Linked DNA regions of Homo sapiens: region 1 is linked to region 2. The links are contacts of gene promoters, found by promoter capture Hi-C in blood cells and fetal thymus (Javierre and others, 2016). All regions are on one chromosome and are shown on one strand. Each heading gives the region's core, a stretch centred on a gene start or on the middle of the fragment in contact. The rest is flanking DNA. Distances are from core to core; before and after follow the strand shown.

The links. The method cuts DNA at HindIII sites, captures the fragments that hold promoters and counts their contacts. A CHiCAGO score of 5 or more calls a contact.
Region 1: a fragment that was not itself captured here is called in contact with the fragment with the promoter of SAXO1 in region 2 in 2 of 17 cell types (endothelial precursors and M2 macrophages); the score reaches 8.5 in endothelial precursors.

The regions. Positions count from the first base shown.
Region 1 is chr9:17,798,672-17,802,750 of GRCh38, reverse strand. No RefSeq gene overlaps it. Among named protein-coding and RNA genes, the nearest start is that of SH3GL2, 220 kb to the right of the region's middle. The HindIII fragment of the contact is 573 bases long and covers 1,338-1,910 here.
Region 2 is chr9:19,030,562-19,034,729 of GRCh38, reverse strand. SAXO1 (stabilizer of axonemal microtubules 1) reads left to right here and starts at 1,521. Exons shown (of 4, transcript NM_153707.4): 1 at 1,521-1,859. The coding sequence starts at 1,822. RefSeq lists enhancers at 1,092-1,645, 1,646-2,199. The HindIII fragment of the contact is 8,262 bases long and covers 102-4,168 here.

The DNA of each region.
Region 1 (4,079 bases), core at 375-2,874, 1.2 Mb after region 2:
CCTATAGGGCAAACATGCAGCCCTAGTAAAACTGACAGTCACTGGGTAACTATGCCAGCTGATCCACAAGCACGCTTTTTATTAGAAGAACAAGAATTTGGTTCTTTTCCCAAAGATCACATACTATTTACTGGATATCACTTTGACACCAATACTTGCTAAAAATGACTAACTTATTAAAGGAGCAATAGTTTAAGCAGCATGCTATGTGAGAAAGAAAGACCTTAAATGCAGCTTATGTATATGATGACTATATAACCACCAGGAAAATTGGTCAGATTGGCAACTGATTAATTTTGGGGCAGGCCAGTAGAGGGCAATCTAGGTCCCACGAAAATACTTTGGGAAAAATAAAAGAACAAGAATTTAAAAAGAACATAAAAGACAATACATAATTAGATGGCACCAAAATTTTGATGATTGGGTATGTGAAGTCAGTAAGTCTATGTTTCCTCAGACTCGAACCACCTTCCTTCTTCATCCCTATTTCATACATAATAAATTCAGATCTTTTTTCATTCCAGAAAAGAAAAACCAAGAGAGAAGTGTGTGTCACTGTTAATGTCAGGGATTAACCTGTGCATTCTGCAATACTGTTAACTTTCTCTTTTCATGGGAAGCACTTGTATTGCAATGTGAGAGGAAGCTGGTCCCTCATATCCCCTTCTTGGTTGCCAAGCCATCTCTTAAATGGTCTTCTTCCACTGCACTCACAAATCAAAGAATTCCCAAATTTGAAGGCGGGTTCTTCAGAGTGTGGCTTTGAACGCTGCCTCTGTAAGAACCATGGGGTGGGGCAGGATGCCTGTCACCCATGTGGATCCTGGCCCTGTTCTAGAAAATGGAATCAGAACGTCGGTGTCAGCCCCAGAAATCCGCATCTTAGCACGTATCCCTCAGGGTTCTGGTATGAACTGCAGGGTGTGACCCACTGATCTAAACAAGAAAAGCAAGAGCTCTAAGAGCAGCCCATCTGAGGAACATGGGGCTAACTGCAGACATATCTCTCTGATTCCCTCGCAAGAGGGGAAGCGGAAAGCAAAGCGTAAACGAATGACCAGGAAAGAAGTGGGAATTCCAAGTCAGCACAGACTCAAATCTAGCGCATCTTTAATGTCGTCAGCAAAGTTGGAAAAACACAGGATGTCCTGAATTTGCAAGATCACTCTGAGTGGAAACATGCATTGAAGTTACTGGATCAATCAATAAATGCAAATGTCTCAGAGCAAAACCAGTAGGTAAGAAAGTCAGTGAGCAGTTGGCTACTTATTTAAAAAGTTTTTATACACACAAGAGCTCCCCAGACTTGCAGGAATGGGAGAGTTGCTTGGGAAGCTTGCTAAAAAACCTGATGCTGACCCTCAAGGGCATGTTTAAGAGGCTACCGGGGCACAACTCAAGTGGGACTTCTGGGGTCTGTAAAAAATGCCTGGATTTCCCTAAGCCATCATTCTCCACCAAAGTTTTATTCAGTGTGTGAGCCCAAAGAACACTTCAGTTGAGGAAAATGACTGAATATGTCTGTTTTCTGGTCATTCTCAACACCAAAGGCAGGGCCAAGAGCTGGCTCTTCCTAAGTTTATTTGGTAGAGCAGCACTACTTCAAGTGTGGTCCAGGGACTGGCAACATCTCTATGGAGCTTGTTAGAAATGCACATTCTCGGGCCCCACTCCAGACATTCTGAACGAGAACATCTGGAGATGGAGGCCAGGCATGTTTTAACAATACCCAGGTGATAAAGCACATATCAGTTTTAGATGCCCTGTAGAGTTTCTCCTAAATCTTTCAATGGTAAATACCACTTGCTAGGGGCCCCTCTATGGGCAGTTCTGATTCTGAGCAGCTGTAATGAGAACCTGGAAATCCAATTTGTAGTTATCTCCAGGTGACTCTTATTATCAGGTAAGCTTAAGAAACTCTAGGTTCTTGATTTCTTATCTCCACGTGTCCTGGAGGCAGACGTTTTGATAAGGGATGCACATAAAAATCACTGACAGAGCTATTTAAAAATGGATTCTTTGGCCTTTCCCCAAACTAGCAAATCATCATATTCAGTTTCCTTTTCAAGAAAGTGGTAGTGAGATGCTGTGCTTCATTCTTTTGCTCCCAAAGCTAACAGCCTGCTCCCCTGCTGTCAAGAATCACAGTTGTCTCCTGCCCTTAAGTGGAAGGCTGCCATCACTTAGGCATACATGATAGCAGAGTAACATTCAACTGCCTGACTGTAAGCAGTTAGCATTCAATGGGTCCTTAAAAAATAGCTTTGTTCTTTTCCTTGACAGCCCCTTTAACCAAGGGGCTCATAACTAGTCCCCAAAAGCTGGGCCTAGAAATTGCTGGTATGGCCTTGCAGCACTCTAAGTCTCTTCCACGAACCACCACCCAGAGTTCTAATGGCAGCTGTCTGCCTCCTTCTTCAGCATAACGTCCCTCCTTCATCACTTCCCCATCTCCGTGGGATGGAAGGCAGTCTGCATGTTTAGCAGTAGTTCTTAATCTGGCTAATGAAACACAGGCTTTAAAAGTGCCCACATACTGTTTCCTGGGATCTCAGTGAAAGAAAATAAAAGTGCCCACATATTAACGGTTTCATCCAGAACACTAGAAGCTATCTTGAAAATGGAGTGTTGGGCTAATCTCAATTTCCTAAATAATGTATGCAGAACAGGACTTGGCACGTTCCAGAATGTATGTTGTGTACTATACACAGCCCCAGGGAAACTTCCATTCTAGGTCGTATCATTCTTATTGTCTACTGATTTATGGCAAAGAGAAACTACGTGAAAATAACTATACTCCTTGAGTTTTCTCTTTAAGACCTATTAAACCTAGTAGACCTATTAGAAAAAGAAGCGAAACCATTGCCCCACTGAATTTATTAATCATTTTAGTTCAGTTTAATTCTGCTTCTGTTTCCACTTTAGGCAGTTTGTTTCAATGATTTGACTTGGAAGAACAAGTGTTTTCTGGCAAGTTCAACTTCTAGTGGTGGTCCACTGAGTAATTTCCATACATAAGGTTTTGTACTAAGGTATTAACTATACCTCAATAAAAATAAAGAATTCAAACAGTCCTGTATCTGGTGAGTGCATTAGTAATGGTCTCCAAAACTCTTCCTTAAATCAAGAGTAAGTTCTTCCTGGAATCTGTGGTCATGACACTTGTTTCATGTGACATTGACTCATAGTGAGATTACTGTATTTGGCACAAAGTCTTGCTGTTTTCACTTTGGGGTTATGGAACTGATATTAAAAAGGTTCAGTTGATATGAGTGCATCACATTAAACATAATGGAATGCTTTTCCTTCAAATATGGTCGAATGCATCTATGTCTCTTTCTGGACTCGCTATTCTGTATATACAATCTATTCTGCTATCTTTGTATCAAAACCATACTACCTTAATTACTGTAACTTTTTAATGTTTTATATCTAGAAAGAGTCCTCCAACTTTGTTCTTCTTTGAGAAAAAACATCTTTTTTCTTTTCCACAAAAATTTTATGACAGGCTTAAAAGTTGAACTTGTCAGTTCTCGAACACATGGAAACAAACTTCCTAAGATTTCTGGTTGAAATCGCACTTAATAAACAGCTAGATTTGGAGGAAAATGATACCTTTACAAGACTGAGTTTTCCAATCTAAAAACACAGAATATCTTTCAATTGCTTTCTCAAATATGTTCCATAATTTTCTATGCAGAGATCAGGTACAATCTTGTTAGATTTGTATCTATGGTTTTGATTTTTTTTTTTTTTTTTTGAGACGGAGTCTCGCTCTGTCACCCAGGCTGGAGTGTAGTGGCGTGATCTTGGCTCATTGCAAGCTCCGCCTCCTGGGTTCAGGCCATTCTCCTACCTCAGCCTCCTGAGTAGCTGCAACTGCAGGCACTCGCCACCACACCCGGCTAATTTTTTGTATTTTTAGTACAGATAGGGTTTCACTGTGTTAGCGAGGATGATCTCGATCTCCTGACCTCGTGATCCACCCGCCTCGGCCTCCAAAAGTGCTGGGATTACAGGCGTGAGCCACCGGGCCCGGCTGGTTTTGATTTCTGATGCCTTTGTGAATGACATTTTTT
Region 2 (4,168 bases), core at 272-2,771:
TCTGGCCATGTTTCCATCCTCCCCTGTAGAGTTCTGACTTCCTACTGGGAAGGCAAGGAGCAGCTTCCCACCCCACTGTTCTTAAGAATGATCAATAAGCTTTGCTCCTGTCTGAATCTACCTTGCTGACTTCCTATAACTGGGGTTGGAACTCTCTCTCTGTAAAATGTCAGATAGTGAATATTTTAGCTTTTGTGGGCCAAGAGGCAAAATCGGGAATGTTTACACAAATTTTTTGAAAAAATTCAAAACTTTATTCACAGACACTGAAATTTGAATTTTAGGTAAGTTTCATTTGTCATGTAATATTATTATTTTAATTTTTTCAACCATTAAAAAATATGAAAACCATTCTTAGCTCAATGGCCAGATAGAGTCAAGTGGCCAACTGCAGACAATAGTTTGCTGACCTCTATTCTAGAGCCTATTACTGAAGGAAAAAACCTAACCCCCCCCACACAAAAAGAAACCCTCTGAATATTAAGTGTCTTGCAGTCCAAGATGCCTCTGACTGACTCATTCACTAAAATGAATGGAAAGAGTTAGGAAGCATAGGAAAGAAAAGCATAAAGATTGTCAATACTTTAAGCTCCCATTTCCCATAAGCAGGAAGTCAAAATGTTTTAAGTCCAAACAACTGGCCAGAGCAGTGTCTTTTGAACTTGCTTCATGACCAGAATCACCTGGCTTCTTGTTGAAGCTAGATTCCCGGACTAGAGGTTTTGATGCAAGGGAGACTTCTGGGTGGGGGTGTGCTCTCGGGATCAGGTAAGCTGAAGAAACACTATTCCAGGGGGTGTAAAGGAACCTCAAAAGCTGTAGTTCTTAAAGTGTGGTCCGTGGCCCAGCAGAACCAGCATTACCTGAGAGCTTGTAAGAAATGCAAGTCTTTGGCCTACCCTAGAAACACTGAATCAGAAACTGGGGGTGGGGTCTGGCAATCTGGTTTTCATCAAGCCAGGTGGTCCTGATGCCAACTAGAATTTGAGAACGCCTGCTTCAAGGCATCATTACCAGCATCTGGAGAAGTGATTGAGAACCCACCTGAGCAGTGAAGGCCTGGGCGCTCTTAAACCACTGTGTTCTCAAGAGCGCAGGTCTGTGGGTGAGAGCAATTCTAACAGACATCTGAAGCCAAAGGCCTAGGTTTCCACAGGAAGATCTGGAAACCCTGTTCAAGGCAAGCCTTTTGGAAGTCAAGGCTGTATTCCCCTAAGAGGGGGCACCATGGATCCTAGAGATAGCAAATGCCACCCAAGGTGATGGTGAGGGAGTTTTCAGCTTTTCTGCACGTGTGACCGTTTACTGCACCAGGAGCTTTCTAGTGACTTCCACCTTTTTCAGGTTTTTCCAAGGTTCACCGGGGAACCCCTGTCCTGGGCCTGCCAGTGAGGTGCTGGGAGCTTCCCGACCTCACAAGCGGCTCTTGTGATGTAATTGCCACCTGAGGCGTGCCCCTCCTGGCCCTGGCGACATCACAGAGGCTACCTGGGCACGGACCCCGCAGCTTCCTGGGGCCCAGTCAGCCGCTCCAGGTGCTTAAGTCTGGACTGCGGAGGCCGGGGCGGTGGCGTGCAGGGTGAGGTCTCCCGGGCTGGCGCGCGTGCAAGCCCCCTGCTGCTACCTCGCGCTAGGCCAGCTCCAGGAGGGCAACAGACGACAGGACATTGCAAAAGGGCCACTTAAATTTTCCTTCGAGTAAACAGAACACCTGCCAAGACCCTCGAGCCTGGGCGTGCCCCAAGACAGGTGGTTGGGGTCTAGGAGTCGGCTGCAGCTGGCGATGCTCTGAGGGGACGTCAGGGCCTCAGGATCGCCCCTATGAAGACGAAGTGCATCTGTGAACTGTGCTCCTGCGGGTAAGGTGGCCACGCCCAGGGCAAGGCTGGGGGAGCCTGGGTTTTCAGACTCCCGAGGAAGGGAAGCCTCCCCCAGCTGCTTCATCAGGCGGCATCACGGTGGGTTCGTCCACTTGCTACGTTTTTTAAGCCACAATTGTGTCAACTAGCGTTGTGCCCGCGGACGCCACATCAGTTCTGGCGAATGTGGCTGTTTTCGGGCCTTCTGTGCCGCTTCACTTGAGAACTGCAGGAGGGTTGAAAATGGGCGTGACCGCGCAGTCTGCACTCCCTTCCCTGAAGCCCAGAAAGTGTCAGCCAAGGAGGGAGAACACCTGGCCCAGTGGGACCAGTCTTGCTCCTTTTGGGAAAGTGATAGGATGGGAGGAGAATTCCTGTAGTATAACTGAATTTCTCATTCAGAGAGATTGTTACTTTGTCAGAGAAGTATAAGGTATTAGTAAAACTTGTTCCACATTGTGTAGAGTTGAATAAGGATAATGAAAACATTACTTTCACAGTCGCCTGGCCTGCCAGGTCTCCCTTCTAACCTTTAAGGACCATCTTTGGGTGGAAGCGCAGTAAAGGTGGTCCTGGGGGAAATCATGGACTTTAGTCAGAGTCCCACGGGCTGACTGGTCTGCTGTCACTCACATGATCTCTTAGAGGCTCCTTCTATCTGCTTCCCAGGGCAGCTGGGTTTCTGCTTGGCTGGGGCAGGGAGTGGGCAGCAGAGGAGCAACAGGCAAGAGGGTTCTGAGGTCACCTTTCCTGGGCTGTCATTAATTGTGGGATCTTAGATTGGTAACTAAACTCCAGGTCATAGTCGCCTCATCTGTACCAACAATACGTACCTCATAGGACTATTGTAAGAGTTAAGATCATGTATGTGAGTCCTGGTACATGGATTGTGCTTAATATGTTAGTGTCCTGAAATCTGAAAAAAGGGCAAATATGACACATGCATATAAAAATGGTATCAGTAGTGTGGAGAATTAAAGGGCACTCTAAAAACTGGATCAGCAACCTTCTATATCTCTGGCATCAATAAATGGTTCCCAACTCTGGCTGCTGATTAGAATCACACAGGGAGTTTGAAAACTATCAGTTGCTCAGGCCGTTGAATTGATACTCTCAGAGTGGGCCCTGTCAACTGTCTAAAGGTGATTCTGGCCATTTGCTAGGACTGGGACTCACTGAACTAGATCATGTACAAACGTGGGTCTTGCTTTTGAGCTTTGTTAAGTGGGGCCAGAGCAGTGTATAGTCTAGGACTACATGTTACCAAGCAAAACCTTTTTTTCTAAGGCCGCCTTTCTTTTTTCTTTTTGGAGGCAGTGTCTTGCTCTGTTGCGCAGGCTGGAGTGCAGTGGTGCCATCTCGCTTCACTGCAACCTATGCCTCAGGGTTCAAGTGATTCTCCTGCCTCAGCCTCCTGAGTAGATGGGATTACAGGCACATGCCACCATGCCTGGCTAATTTTTGTATTTTTAGTAGAGACAGGGTTTCAACCATGTTGTCCAGGCTGGTTTTGAACTCCTGATCTCAGGTGATCGCCTGCCTCGGCCTCCCAAAGTGCTGGGATTACAGGCATGAGCCACTAAGGCCTTCTTTCTACTGGGATGCTTTACATTACCCTCCTGTGTCCTCCTGCATTGTTCTAGGCATTGGGATTGAATGTATAAGACATAGTCTCCATCTTTGCACAGCGTGCAGTCTAGGTAGGAAGGCAGAATGCTCATTAAGAGGTGCAGAGCATATATAGTGAGAAGTCTCCCTCCTGCCCCTGCAGTAGGGTTATGACTCATTTGGGTGTTCCTTCTCTGACTCTGTTCTCATTCTGTCCCTGCAAAGGAGTCACTTTCCATTGGAAGCAGAGTCTGTTCTTGTGTCTCTTCTCCTTTTCTTCTCTCCTCATCCTGTATTTTCTCCTCCATTTTATGGTTTCAGCCAATAGTTTCTCCTGTCTTCTGAATTCCAGTTTCATTTTCATCTTCTCAAAGTGCTTTGGTGATCCATCTGTCTCATTAATCTCAACTTCAACAACCTTCAAACATTATTCTGGTATCTGCCCCATTCATGGTGCCAGCAATCTTCCATTCACCCTGGGTGAAAATTTTGAATCATCTCTTACTCTCCCTCAAACAGAACATTGAATCTTTTTCTTCTTCTTATTTTTTTATTTTTTTTATTTTTTTGAGATGGAGTCTTACTCTGTCGTGCAGTGGCGCGATCTCTGCTCACTGCAACCTCCGCCTGCTGGGTTCAAACGATTCTCCTGCCCCAGCCTCCCAAGTAGCTGGGATTACAGGTACCCACCACCATGCTGG